Regions from separate parts of the Homo sapiens genome. Here regions 1 and 3 are each linked to region 2. The links are contacts of gene promoters, found by promoter capture Hi-C in blood cells and fetal thymus (Javierre and others, 2016). All regions are on one chromosome and are shown on one strand. Each heading gives the region's core, a stretch centred on a gene start or on the middle of the fragment in contact. The rest is flanking DNA. Distances are from core to core; before and after follow the strand shown.

The links. The method cuts DNA at HindIII sites, captures the fragments that hold promoters and counts their contacts. A CHiCAGO score of 5 or more calls a contact.
Region 1: a fragment that was not itself captured here is called in contact with the fragment with the promoter of EFCAB9 in region 2 in 2 of 17 cell types (naive CD8 T cells and total CD4 T cells); the score reaches 6.0 in naive CD8 T cells.
Region 3: a contact is called between a fragment that was not itself captured here and the fragment with the promoter of EFCAB9 in region 2, in 1 of 17 cell types (total CD4 T cells). The highest score is 6.1, in total CD4 T cells.

The regions. Positions count from the first base shown.
Region 1 is chr5:171,895,065-171,899,913 of GRCh38, reverse strand. FBXW11 (F-box and WD repeat domain containing 11) reads left to right here. Exons shown (of 14, transcript NM_001378974.1): 6 at 820-910. Among named protein-coding and RNA genes, the nearest start is that of FBXW11, 110 kb to the left of the region's middle. The HindIII fragment of the contact is 5,005 bases long and covers 1-3,931 here.
Region 2 is chr5:172,190,657-172,195,539 of GRCh38, reverse strand. It overlaps EFCAB9 (EF-hand calcium binding domain 9), which reads right to left and starts at 1,368. Exons shown (of 4, transcript NM_001171183.2): 1 at 1,232-1,368. The coding sequence starts at 1,367. The HindIII fragment of the contact is 7,932 bases long and covers 1-4,186 here.
Region 3 is chr5:171,878,016-171,882,491 of GRCh38, reverse strand. It overlaps FBXW11 (F-box and WD repeat domain containing 11), which reads left to right. Exons shown (of 14, transcript NM_001378974.1): 8 at 4,363-4,476. Among named protein-coding and RNA genes, the nearest start is that of SMIM23, 94 kb to the right of the region's middle. The HindIII fragment of the contact is 4,838 bases long and covers 342-4,476 here.

The DNA.
Region 1 (4,849 bases), core at 180-2,679, 300 kb after region 2:
GTAAGTACTTGGGTTGCTTGTTCCCTTGAAAAAATTTTATTGACATAGAGTCAGCTTGATTACTCAAAAATGCAATTATACTTGCAAATGTGCTGGCCTATTTTTAAAAAGGGGGGAAAATGAGTGGTCAAAAGTTGGAAGAAAAAGTTAAAGCTGTTAAAATTTCTCCCTCTGAAATGTGTATTTCCTTTATGAACTGTATTATATAGTTTGATGGGATTTGGCGTTTCAAAGCTATGTATTTATGTTTTTTCCTTCACATTTTGCTTAGTTGATGATACCATTACCAAAATATAGATATGACAAAAATATGAGAAAGTCAGATAGTGCCATTTTGCTGTTTGTTATTACTGCTGGTTGAGGAAGTAATAACAGTGATAGGATTTTTCAGAGAAAACTCATAACTCTGATGCAGCTTTATAGCTAGCTGTATGCTGTATGGCCCAGTTAGCAAAGAGAGAGAGCTACAGACAGAGGTGCATATAGGGCTGTATTTTCCTTACGGGAGGAAGTTTGATGTGTACTAAGTTAGATTTTTCACAAAGCTACATTAGCGCTTTTTATTAAACTCTATGGAATGAAAGGCTAGATTGTTACATATTAGTACTCAGAAAACACGATCAGGATTTTGTTAGAGAGCTGTGAATTGAGCTAAACTTGTCTGTAACATGTAAATTTGTCAGAAATCCTGCTTTTGAACTGTTAAAACTCAATGCAAATTAAAAGACATGAAAGATATATCTTTGTCAGCACCATGTTTAGATAAAATTCACCCTTTTATGTGCAAAAATGTAACATCTGTTTGTTTTTATTTGCCAGGGATCAGTACCTGTTTAAAAACAGACCCACAGATGGCCCTCCAAATTCATTTTATAGGTCATTATACCCAAAGATTATCCAGGATATAGAGGTAACTTTATGATTTATCTGTTTTATGGGCTCTTTGTTTCTTGTTCTCAACTTTTTATGTTGCCTTAGAGTGTTCTTTTGGTCTAAAATCGTAGAACTAATAATTTTTTTTAAAAAGTTGAGCTTTTGGAGTAAATGTGTCATGTTGTATATAATCTGCAGCTATTCTGCAGAGAAAATAATGTCTTTTGCAAAGAATATCTAACTTTTCTAAAACATGAAATGCTTCTGCAAGGCTGCCGGTTAATTCAAACCTTAATCTAAAATCATCTTTTTATTCTAAGCTGATAAATTTTCCAAAATCCAAGGCCCCGTTTTTTTAAGTAAGCATTGTTTTACATTTTTGAGCCATCTCTAGAGAACTAGAGAAGGCACATTTCAAGTTTTCTCTGTACATTACTCATAGTTTTTCATAAACATGACTCAGATATCATTCTAAGCAATAGTTAAGTGGATTTTATAGGGCAAATTATGCTCCTGGACCATTTTGGATTTGAGCGTAACTTCACCAGACCAGTAAAACTCTGTAAACTTGATGAGAAACATTGGAGATGTTTGATATCGTTCATGTGTTCTAATTAGTTCAGTTTTACTATTTTAGCCTTTTTCCTTGAACCAGGAAAGACATGCACAGGCATTTCTCATTAACTCTTTCACATGTGTTCTTGGCAGGTCTTGGTTACTTCACTGTTTCCTCCTTGGCAGAAAACTTTAGCCTTTGCTAGGCAATGCAATATCACCCATAAAGTTATACTCAGTTTCCCAAATGTGAAGTAATCCTCTCCCCCAGGTGATAGACATAAAAGTTATTGTGCCAAAATTCATTAACGGAGAAACATGTGCTTTTTCAGACCCCACCACCCTTCCAGGCAGATGTGAATAATGGAATCATTCCATTAATGGTAAATCTGAATGTGACTGGAATATCATTATTTAAAGCCCAAACTGTCTTGAATATTCTGCTCTCTGAAATGATCTATAAAGTAACCCTTTAAGGAGGTTAAATAAAAACTTTCACTAGATAAATCATAAAGTTTAAGAATTAATTGACCATTGGCAGTTCCAAACTTAGAATAAGTTGCCCCTACAGTGCTAGTGGCTGAGACATGGTGTTAACTTTAATCTTAGGTTGATGTGTGTGTATTGTAGGGGAGATGGGGCTGTCTCTTACCCCAGGTAGTTGTACTAAGGCATTTCTTATGTACACATCTTATAAACTACATTACCCTCTGTTTTTTTTTTTCACTTGATGAGGGGCAACTATTTACAAAGTTATTTCCAGACTTCTTTGAATAATTTTATCAAAAAAATTCTTTGAAAAGAATGATGTTTAAAGTTAATTATGAACAAACAGGAACCTTGAAGAACTCTGATCAGGTTGAAGATGTGGCAACATAGATAGTTTGATTGAATCCTCATGACTGCTGTTAGAATTGACAATGTGAATTCAGTATTCTGTGGCATGACAGTATCTGACACCACCTGCCATCATCACTTCTTCAGGCTGAAATGATAGTTTAAAGTAGGAGAGGAGGCAGGTGTGAGGGGAAACAGCTCTGTGGGAAAACCCTGTGCGACACAGCCTCTACATCATGGTGGTCTACCCAGTGGTTCTTAAAGTGTGGTTTGGAAAAACCCACTGGTTGGCCACAAAAGTCTTCTCCAGATTTTTGTGGGCTAGACCTCTTGATATAAGGGATGATGTTTATACTTTGATATATGTGCTACTAGTAATAATCATAAAAGTAATGTACCACTAATAGCATTTACTTATGCCAGATACTTTGTTAACTACTTTATAATGCATTTTCTCTTTTAACATTTTGGACAAAACCTGAAAGGTAGGCCAAGTACTTATTTAAATTTGAGGAAACCTTAGAAGGTTAAAAAGGTTAAACAGTTTAGTCAGGATCACACAGCTAGTGGGTAATTGAGAGTCTGTGATCAACCATGTACCCTTCTACCCTTAATACGAGTTTTTAACAATAGACCACTGCTACCACCTCAAAATAGATTTTTTTTTACTCCCATTTTGAGAGTGTGTTTTATTCTGTCTGGAATAAAACAGAATATATAGAGTTTTATGTAGAGAGTTCTTCCAGTGATCCATGGATCAAATGAGAGCCTCTCACGGGCTTGGCTCTGTCCGTATGACTGGTATGAAATCCTCACAAGCAGACTATAATAATTACAAATACCCACTTCGAGTTTTTGCATATATCAAACCACGTTGGGTGATTTACATAGATGATTGTTTTTTATTCTTACAACAAGGTGCATGTTATTATCTTTATAATAAGGGGAAACTGAGACTAAAAGAAGTTTTAGGACTTGCTACATAGTTAAGTAGAAGAGATGGGATGGGCTTTTAACTGAGGTCTGTCTAGCTCTATCCAGGCTGAGAGTTGTTGTTTGTCATTTTCAGAGTGGAAAATTCAGGAAGTGAGGGAGAAAGAGGCATGTTTTATGCCTGCTGAATTTCAAGGTGGCCTTTGCCTCTTTCTCTAATTGTGTGAATACGCAGTGTCCTTGACTGTTCGTTGAAAAAAGGGTATGAGTTAAGATCTGATTAGTGGGCCCTGTTTTAGTCCAGTTATGGGAAAGTAGTAGGGTTTTAAGCACATTGCAGAAAGATAAATGACACTTGGAATGTCAAGTGGCTGTTTATGTCCCCCCTCCCTCCCCAGTTGCCTGTACATAGCTTCAGAGTCTCTTGTGTTGTTTCCCTTAGACTTTGCAAGGTTGCCAGTTCACAACACCTTTTTCTTTTTTTCCTTCTTCCTCCACCTCGACAGCTTGGCTTATGTGCCAGCTCCTGTAATCTGTACGTTCCCAGATTTGGCTCTGATGAGGAGAAAGGAAATGTTCATCTCTGAATCTGCGCTTCTACATTGACCCACCGAAAATTGGCTTAATTTTAAGGGAAAATAGAGAACCTGGCTTAGTGCAGCCAACTCCTGTTATTCAGGAAATGAGGATGTGAGAAATGGAGTCTGGGGAGAATAAATAAGTATTGTAAGCTTTCTGCAAAGGCTCATCTCGCCTGGGTGTTCTTGCCACACATAGAGAGGGTTTAGAGGGCCTCTGAATTGAGAAGGAATTCCTAGAAAACCTGAGGCTCGCTCCTAAAAGAAGCAGCCATATTCTCCTTTGCTGTCTAGAGTCTTAGTTGTTGCTGTTATTATTGTTGTTGTTACCATTAATGGTGGGCTGACTGCTGGATACTTTGCTACAAGTGATTTAATTTAATCCTCGAATTGTCAAAGCTGAGATTCTTACTTCAAAGCCCATGCTGCTTTCACTCTAGCGTGCCCCCAATTGTCTATTAACAGAGAGATAGGAGTTGTTATAACAGCCCTAGAGTTCTGGTATTCTGAACTTGGATTTTTCTCTTTTGCCATTTGAGTAGTGACAAACTCCTTCAAGTAATCTACCTTCTTCCTCTCTTCATTCATTGCATTAACGCCTCCGAAGTGCTCTTCTTGGACAGACACTGGGAAGATGATGGTGTGTTGTATCACACCTTTTAATAAGCCACATTTTATTCAGGGAAAGTGGGGAGCTTTTTTGTGGTTTGCAAACCTGATATTAACATTGTCCTGACCAGAAAATGTCAAAACTTGCCCACCCACCCAGTTGTGTTTAGGCTTCTAAAAATAATGTTATTCCTCCATACTCAGACATCTGTTTTCACTCTATTGCCAATTTAAATGCCGCTGTATACTCTGTGTATCATGGCTACTTTCCCAGTATTTTGAAAATTTGCGCAGGGTAAGGGGATTTTACAAGTTCTCAAAAACATGAAATATTCCTCTACAGTAGCCATACCACATGATGGCTAAGTGAAATGATAGGTATCCATATAAAGAGGTGCACCTGTGTATGACCTCTGTTCCTGCTGCTGGCATTAAGGTAATAGTTGGATTCCATTTGAAGGCTG
Region 2 (4,883 bases), core at 119-2,618:
CTCAGCCTTTTATTTACAACTAGGTCCCCTGCAGCTGCCTTATCTAGGGCAGGGTTATTGCGAAGATTTGGCAATGCACTGTACATAAATCTCTATGTAAAGAGAGAAAGAAGGTGTTCTTTTTTAATTGTTTTTAAAAATTGAATGAACTCCTTAAAATCATGACGGAGGAACCCCTTACTCACGGATGACATTTCTCTCTCTGAGGTCAGAACGAGTGAATGGATAGGATACCTTATTTCTACTCAGTCCTAAAAATAACCTCAAGTGTTTAATTGGACTTCTATTAGTTTGTGAACTCAACAAGCATGGCTGAGATCTGCAGCTTTTATATTTATTTATTTATTTATTTATTTTTATTTATTTATTTATTTATTTATTTATTTTTGGTCATTCACAAGTACCAATAAGTAGAAGGGATCCTGCAGCTCATCAGATTCAAACTTCCCACATGACAGATAAATCTTGCTGAGGGGTCTCCAGAGTTAATGCCTGAGTGGGGCTCAGCTCCCAAGAATAATAATTACAATAATAACAAACACTTATTAAGTCCTTACGATGTGTCAGACACTGTGCTAAGCATTTGCCATACTCTCATTATCTTTTTTTTTTCCAACTATGAGATGGACTCCATTATGAGAAGCCTCACCTCTAGATGAGGAAAATGAGACTTAGAGAGGGCGATGACGTGTTATCCACATCACCAAGGAATAATGGGTGTGGAGCCAGGATTCCACCAGAGTCTGCAATTTTCTCCTCCCGGCTGAACTGTCCCCCGTGTCAATTCTGAGTTGGCAACTTCTCTCTGTGCTTCAACTAGAAGATAAAATATTTACTAACAGGCCGGGTGTGGTAGCTCACACTTGTAATCCCAGTACTTAGGGAGGCGGAGGCGGGTGGATCACCTGATGTCAGGAGTTTGAGACCAGCCTGGCCAACATGGTCTGGTCATCTCTACCGAAAATACAAAAAATTAGCCAGGCGTGGTGGCAGACACCTGTAATCCCAGCTACTCAGGAGGCTGAGGCAGGAGAATTGCTTGAACCCTGGAGGCGGAGATTGCAGTGAGCTGAGATCGCGCCATCGTACTCCAGCCTGGGCAATAGAGCGAGATTCCGTCTCAAAAAAAAAAAAATGTACTAACAAAATAGTTTCTGGCTCTGCAAGTTTTCTTACACATTAGCTAAAACCCAGGTAAGGACCCAGAGGAGACATGTCTGAAAGTACTGACCATTCAAGGTGTTCTTGCCGTGCACGTCCAGAATATGAAAATATTCTGCCAAAGCCTTCACGTTTCTCACGGATAATAAGCAGTATATTTTGTCCAGATAGAGGTACCACAGAAACGATCCTTGCTTCAGTCTCATCTTAGTACTGTGTCAACTGAAGGCTCTGGCAACCAGAAATAGAATACAGAACCCTGCCTCAGAAGTAGAATGTTGGATATAGTGTCTGAGATCTGGCAGCAGTGAAGGTAAACACGTCAGAGGAAACAGTCAAAAATTAAAATTGCTGCTTCTTAATTTTTCCAGCTATGCTATAGATAGATATCTGCTGTCCGAAACCTCTTGGTAACGTGATTATCCTTATGTCACTAAAATACAATCAGTTCTAAAGGAGATCCACAGGCTGTTCAGAAATGAATGAGAGAATGTGCTACATAGGAAAACTGCTACACAGCCCAAGTGGTTTTCAGAGCATTTATAGCCTAAATCATTTATTAGAAAGAAGAAAAATTGAAAAACACATGGAAAAGTACTAAAAGAGCCTAGAATAACTACAGTATAATAATGCCAAAGAGAGGAAGTTTTTCTTTTTTCTTTTCTTTTTTTTAATTGAGACAAGAGTCTTGCCTTGTCACCCAGGCTGGAGTGCAGTGGCGCGAGCTCTGCTCACTGCAAGCTCCGCCTCCCGGGTTCACGCCATTCTCCTGCCTCAGCCTCCTGAGTATCTGGGACTACAGGCGACAGGCGCCCACCAACACGCCCGGCTAATTTTGTGTATTTTTAGTAAAGACGGGGTTTCACCACGTTAGCCAGGATGGTCTTCATCTCCTGACCTTGTGATCCGCCCGTCTTGGCCTCCCAAAGTGCTGGGATTACAGGTCTGAACCATTGAGCCCTGCCTCTTTTTTTTCTTTTTTTGAGACAGAGTTTCACTCTTATCATCCAGGCTGGACTATAATGGCACAGTCTTGACTCACGGCAACCTCTGTCTTCTGGATTCAAGCGAATCTCCTGCCTCAGCCTCCCGAGTATCTGGAATTACAGGCATGCACCCCCACGCCCAGCTAAATTTTTGTTTTTATTTTTTATTTTTTATTTTATTTTATTTTTATTATTATTATTTTTTGAGATGGAGTCTCGCTCTGTCTCCCAGGCTGGAGTGCAGTGGCGCGATCTCGGCTCACTGCAAGCTCCACCTCCCAGGTTCACACCATTCTCCTGCCTCAGCCTCCCCAGCAGCTGGGACTACAGGCACACTCCGCCACTCCCGGCTAATTTTTGTATTTTTAGTAGACACGGGTTTCACCGTGTTAGCCAAGATGGTCTTCATCTCCTGACCTTGTGATCCGCCTGCCTCGGCCTCCCAAAGTGCTGAGATTACAGGCGTGAGCCACTGCACCCAGCCCAATTTTTGTATTTTTAGTAGAGATGAGGTTTAACCATGTTGGCCAGGGTGGTCTTGATGCCTGCCCTCAAGTGATCCACCCGCCTTGGCCTCACAAAGTGCTGGGAGTACGGGTATGAGCCACTGTGCCCTGACATTAATTTTTTTTTTCTTTTTTCTTTTTTTTTTTTTTGAGACAGGATCTCACTCTGTCTCCTAGGCTGGAGTGCAGTGGTATGGTCATACCTCACTGCAGCCTTGAATCCCAGGCTCAAGCTATCCTCCCACCTCCACCTCCTCATAGCTGGGACTATGCCCATGTGCTACCACGTTGTATTTTTTGTAGAGATAGGATCTTGCTACATTGCCAAGGCTGGTCTTGAACTCCTGGCCTCAAGCTATCCTCCCACCACAGCCTTCCAAAGTGTTGGGATTACAGGTGTGAGCCATGGTGCCCAGCCCCTCCTCTGTCTTAATTTTCTACTCCCTACTCACTCCCAAATAAACCACTTACACTCAAATCCTTGCCTCAGGGTCAGTCTCTAAGGGAATCCAACCTAAGAATACTATAAAATGCTTTTTCTGTGACTATTAAGACTATGTGATTTTTCTCCTTTACTCTGCCAATGCAGTGCTATTACAGTAGATTTTCTGATGTAGAACCATTCTTTTATTCCTGGATAAACCTTTTGTGGTTACGATATTTTTATTCACCTCTGGTTTGATCTTGCTAGCATTTGTATTTTCCCTGTCTTTTTAAGAACTGAAATTAGGCCGGGCGTGATGGCTCACACATGTAATCCCAGTACTTTGGGAGGCTGAGGCGGGCGGATCACGAGGTCAAGAGATTGAGACCATCCTGGCCAACATGGTGAAACCTCATCTCCACTAAAAATACAAAAATTAGCCGGGCGTGGTGGCACGTTCCTGTAGTCCCAGCTACTTGGGAGGCTGAAGCGGGAGAATCGCTTGAATCTGGGAGGTGGAGGTTGCAGTGAGGTGAGATCACACCATTGCACTCCAGCCTGGCGACACAGCAAGACTCTCTCTGTCAAAAAAAAAAAAAAAAAAAAATGAAATGAAATTAGTCTACAATTTTCTTTCTCTCTCTCTCTTTCCTCTCCTTCCCTTCCTTTTTAAGACAGGGTCTCACTGGAGACCAGGCTGGTGCAGCGGTGAGATCACTGTTCACTGCAGCCTCGGCCTCCTGGGCTCAAGGAATCCTCCTGCCTCAACCTCCTGAGTAGCTGGGACCACTGGTGTGCACCACCACGCCTGGCTAATTTTTTGACTTTTTGTAGAAACAGGGTCTCACTTTATAGCTCTGGCTGGTATGGAACTCCTGGGCTCAAGTGATCCTCCCACCTCAGCCTCCCAAAGTGCTGGAATTACAGGTGTAAGCCACTGTGCCTGGCTTACAATTTTCTTTTACTGTCCTTATCTAGTAATAGTAAAACTCATCTTATAAAATAAATTGGCAGATTTCCTTCATTTTCTATCTTTTAAAATAATTTATATAAAGAAAGAAATTATTTGTAAAACCACACAGACTGATGTCTTTCACCAAGAACAAGCTTTTGATTCTTGATTTTTGTGGTTGTTGTTTTTTGGGTTTTTGTTTGTTTGTTTTTGTTTAGAGACAGAGTCTCACTGTGTTGCCCAGGCTCGAGTGCAGTGGTGTGATCTCGGCTCACTGCAACCTCCGTCTCCTAGGTTGAAGGGATTCTTGTGCCTGAGTCTCATGAGTAGTTGGGACCACAGGCACGCACCACCACACCCGACTAATTTTTGTATTTTTAGTAGAGACAGAGTTTCACCATGTTGCCCAGGCTGGTCTCGAACTCCTGACCTCAGGTGATTCACCCGCCTCAGCCTCCCAACGTGCTGGGATTACAGGCATGAGCCACTGTGCCCGGCCTGATTCTTGATTTGATTTCTTTATTGGTTACTAGTTTATTTAGGTTTTTATTTCTTATTGAAATTATCTTTTACCTATCATTTATATTTTCTTCTCAATAATTACCCATTTTATGTAAATTAAAACATTTATTCACATAAATTTGTCTAAAATATCACTTTATGATTATCAAAATTTCTACAGTATCTAATCTGATGTTCTCTTTTCATTTTTTATTTCTTCCAGTGAATATTTCTTTCTTGCACCAATTTTTTTTTTTTCTTTTCTTTTTTTTTTTGAGACGGAGTCTTGCTCTGTTGCTCAGGCTAGATGGAGTGCAATGGTACGATCTCGGCTCACTGCAACCTCCATCTTC
Region 3 (4,476 bases), core at 1,511-4,010, 310 kb after region 2:
CTCTACAAAAAAATTAAAAAACATTAGCTGGGCATTGTGGCATGCGTCTGTAGTCCCAGCTACTCAAGAGGCTGAGGTGGGAGGATCACCTGAGCCCGGGAGGTCAAAGGCTGCAGTAAGCTGTGATTGTGTCACTGTATTTCAGCCTGAGTGACGGTGTGAGACTTTCTCTCCCTCCTCCTTCGCTGTGTGTGTGCACATGTGTGCATGTGTGGGTGGGTGTAACTAAATGAAAATGAAAGCCCAAGTTATCAAAATCTGTGGGATGCAGTGAAAGCTTAGAATTTTATAGTATTGAGTGCATATATTAGAAAAAAGACTAAAAATCAGTCATCTAAGCTTCCACCTTAGGAAACTAGAAAAAGAACAGTTTAAATCCGTAGTAAGCAGAATAAAAGAGTTAATGAAAAGTAGGGCAGAGATCAATGAAATTGATAACAGGAAATCCATAGAAATAGGTAAGGAAACCAAAAGATGTGTCTTTGAAAAGATGAGTAAAATTGATAATTACGTTAGCTATGCTAACATAGAAAAAAAAGCACTCAGATTCCTAATATTGAAATGAAAGAGGAGACATCACTATAGCTCTCATGAGCGTTAAATGAATAATAAAATAATATGATCAACTCCCTGTTTACAAATTTGATAATTTATATGAAATGAATTAATTCCCTGAAAGACACAGTCTTCCAAAATTGACATAAAAACAAATAGGTAATCTGAATAGGCCTTTATCTGTTGAAGAAATTGAGTCAATAATTAATTACTTTCCAAAACAGCACCAGGCCCAGATGAGTTACTGGTGAATTCTGTCAAACATTTAAGTAAGAAATTACACCAGTTCTCTACAATCTCTTCCAGAAGATAGAAGAAGAGAGAATATTTCATCACTCATTCTATGAGGCCATTGTTACCTTAGTACTAAACTAGATGAAGACATTCAAAGAAAACCACAGACCAATATCTTCATGTTTAACCTTCAAAAATCAATTAATCCGTCATATCAATAAGCCAAAGAAGAAAATCACGTCAATAGATGCAGAAAGGGCGTTTGAGAAAATTGAACACTCTTTCGTGATAAAAACCCTTAGTAAACTATGAATAGAGGGGAACTTCCTTAACTTGATAAAGAGTATCTACAAAAAGCCTATAGCTAACGTCACACACAGTGCTGAGAAATGTGAAACTTTCCCACTAAGGTCAGGAATAAGACAAAGATGTCCCCACTCACCACTATGTTTCAACATTGTATTAGAACTCCTAGATAACACACTAAGACAAGGTATACAAATTGAGAAGGAAGAATTAAAACTGTCTTTGCTTGTAGATGACATGATTGTAGAAAAAAATGAAAGCATCAACAAAAAAAACCTCCTAGAACTAATAAATGATTATAGCAAGTTTGCCGGATACAAGGTTAATATACTTAAGTCAGTTGCTTACCCATATAGCAGCAATGAACAAGTGGAATGTGAAATTAAAAACACAATAACATGGCTGGGCGCGGTGGCTCACGCCTATAATCCCAGCACTTTAGGGAGGCCGAGGTGGGTGGATCATCTGAGGTCAGGAGTTTGTGACCAGCCTGGCCAACATGGTGAAACTCCGTCTCCACTAAAAATACAAAAATTAGCCGGGTGTGGTGGTGGGCGCCTATAGTCCTGCTACTCAGGAGGCTGAGGCAGGACAATAGCTTGAACTTGGGAGGCGGAGGTTGCAGTGAGCCGAGATCGCGCCATTGCACTCCAGCCTGGGTGACAGAGTGAGACTCCATCTCAAAAAACACAATAACATTTATATTAGCACCTCCCCCACCAATGAAATACTTAGGTATAAATCTAACAAAATATTTATAAGATCTATGTGAAGAAAACTATAAAACTGATTAAAGAAATCAAAGAACTAAATAAATGGGGAGAGATATTTCATGCTCATGGGTAGGAAGACTATTGTGAGGATGTCAGTCATTTCTTCCCAAATTGGTCTGTAGGTTCAATGCAGTCTCAATCAAAATCCCAGCAAGTGATTTTGTGGATATCTACCAGCTGACTGTAATGTTTATATGGACAAGCAAAAACCAGCATGATACTGAAGTAGAATAAAGACAGAGGACTAACACTACCCTACTTGAAGAATTACTGTAAAACTGCAGTCATCACAGTGGTGTGGTGCTGGCAACAGAATGGACAGCTAGATCCATGGAACAGAATAGAGAGCCCAGAAATATATACCTTCATAAATATAGTCAGCTGATCTTTTACAAAGGAGCAAAGACAATACAGTAGAGAAAAGATTGTGTCTTCAACAAATGGGGCAGAAGCAATTAGACACCATATTGCCTCCCTTACCCTTAAACAGTCTAGACATAGATCCTATATACTTCACAAAAATTAACTCAAAATGGATTAAAGACCTGACTGTAAAACACAAAATCTTAAAATTCACAGAATGTAACATAGGAGAGAATCTAGATGATCTTGAATTTGTTGATGACTTTTTAGATATAATACCAAAGCCATGACCCATGAAAGAAAGAATTAATGAGCTGGACTTTGTTAAAATTAAAAATTTCTGCTCTGTGAGAGACATTGTCTGGAGAATGAAAAAACAAGCCACAGACTAGAGAAAATGTATGCAAAAGACATACAAAGAACTCTTGAATCTCAACAGTAAGAAAAAAAACAATTAGCTTAACCTGATTTTTAAAAATAAGGCATAGACCTTAACAGACATCTCACCAAAGAAGGATATACAGATGGCATATTGTAAGTATGTGAAAAGATGTTACACATTGTAAGTCATCAGAGAAATGTGAATTATAACAGTGAGACACTACTACACACCTGTTAGCATGGCCAAAATCCAGAACACTGACAACACCCAATGCTGGTGAGAATGTGGAGCAATAGGAACAGGAACTTTCATTCATTGCTGTTGGAAATGGAAAATAGTACAGCCACTTCAGAAGGCAGTTTGGCATTCTTACGAAACTAAACATACTTTTACCATATATACCACTTAGTATTTACACAACAGAATTGAAAACTTAGGTCTACACAAAAACCTGCACCCAGATGTTTATGGCAGCTTTACCCATAATTGCCCAAACTTGGAAGCAACCAAGGTGTCCTTCAGTAGGTGAATGGATAAATAAACTGTAGTACATCTAGACAGTGGGATAATTTTCAGCACTAAAAAGGAATGTATATCAAGCCATGAAAAGACAGGGAGGAACCGTAAGTGTGTATTACTGTGTGAAAGAAGCCAATCTAAAAAGGCTACATACTGTATGATTCCAAATCTGTGACATTCTAGAAAAGACAAGTCTATGGAGGCAGTAAAAGAAGCGAGAAAAGGAACACTCAGAGTGTGAAAACAACTGTTCACAACATTTTACCTCCTTTAATCCTTTCTTCCTTTTCTAAAATATACATAGTCATTGTGTCACTTTACAGATAATTTTTGTTCTGATTTTTAAAATGCTTAACTTTGTAATAAAGCATGATATTTTCTCATTAAACACTTCATAGTTTACTTTGAGACTTTTATGAAATGCTGGACATTTCATTTTCCACTTTTTGTTTTTGTAAACGTAGGGGTATGCATTTGTAAAACCTCTTAATAGACGTTGTCATGTTGCTTTCCAGAGAGTGAGCCAATTCTTTTTCATTAATATTTTTATGAGACATAAAAATAAAATGACAAAGCAGAGTCCTGCTTTGTTGCCCAGGCCGGAGTACAGTGGTGTGATTATGGCTCACTGCAGCCTTGCCTTCTGGGCTCAAGCAATTCTGTCACCTCAGCCTCCTGAGTAGTTGGGACTACAGGCACACACACCACCACACCTGGCTAATTAAAACACACACACACACACACACACACACACACTCTCTCTCTCTTACACACACACACACACACACACACACACACTCACACACTCTTATGGAGATTGGCTTGGTATGTTGCCCAGGCTGGTCTTTTAACTTCTGGGCTCAAGCGATCCTTCTGTCTCGGCCTCCCAAAATGTTGGGATTATAGGCATGAGCCACAGCACCCAGTCAGTGAGCGAATTCTTTTCACAGATTTTATTTTTAAGAAGTCCCCTTTATGAGGCTGTTGATAAGTATACTGAGATCAATAGCTAAGGGTTCAAATTAAGCAAAATAGCACATCTATCCTAGTAGTTAATCACTATTGTCTGTATTCCTTCTTGTCATTTCTTACCTGTTTGTTATTCAGTGTTTCTTATTTACTGTAACCCAAGTGTGTTTTATTTTATAATCAGAACATAAGGTGGGACAGTAACATTCATCAAAATATAGTATAATTAATCATCGTTTGTGGCTAATCTTGTCTCAATAGATATGGGATAAAACCAGCCTGGAATGTTTGAAAGTGTTAACAGGACACACAGGCTCTGTCCTCTGTCTGCAGTATGATGAGCGTGTCATTGTAACTGGCTCTTCAGATTCTACG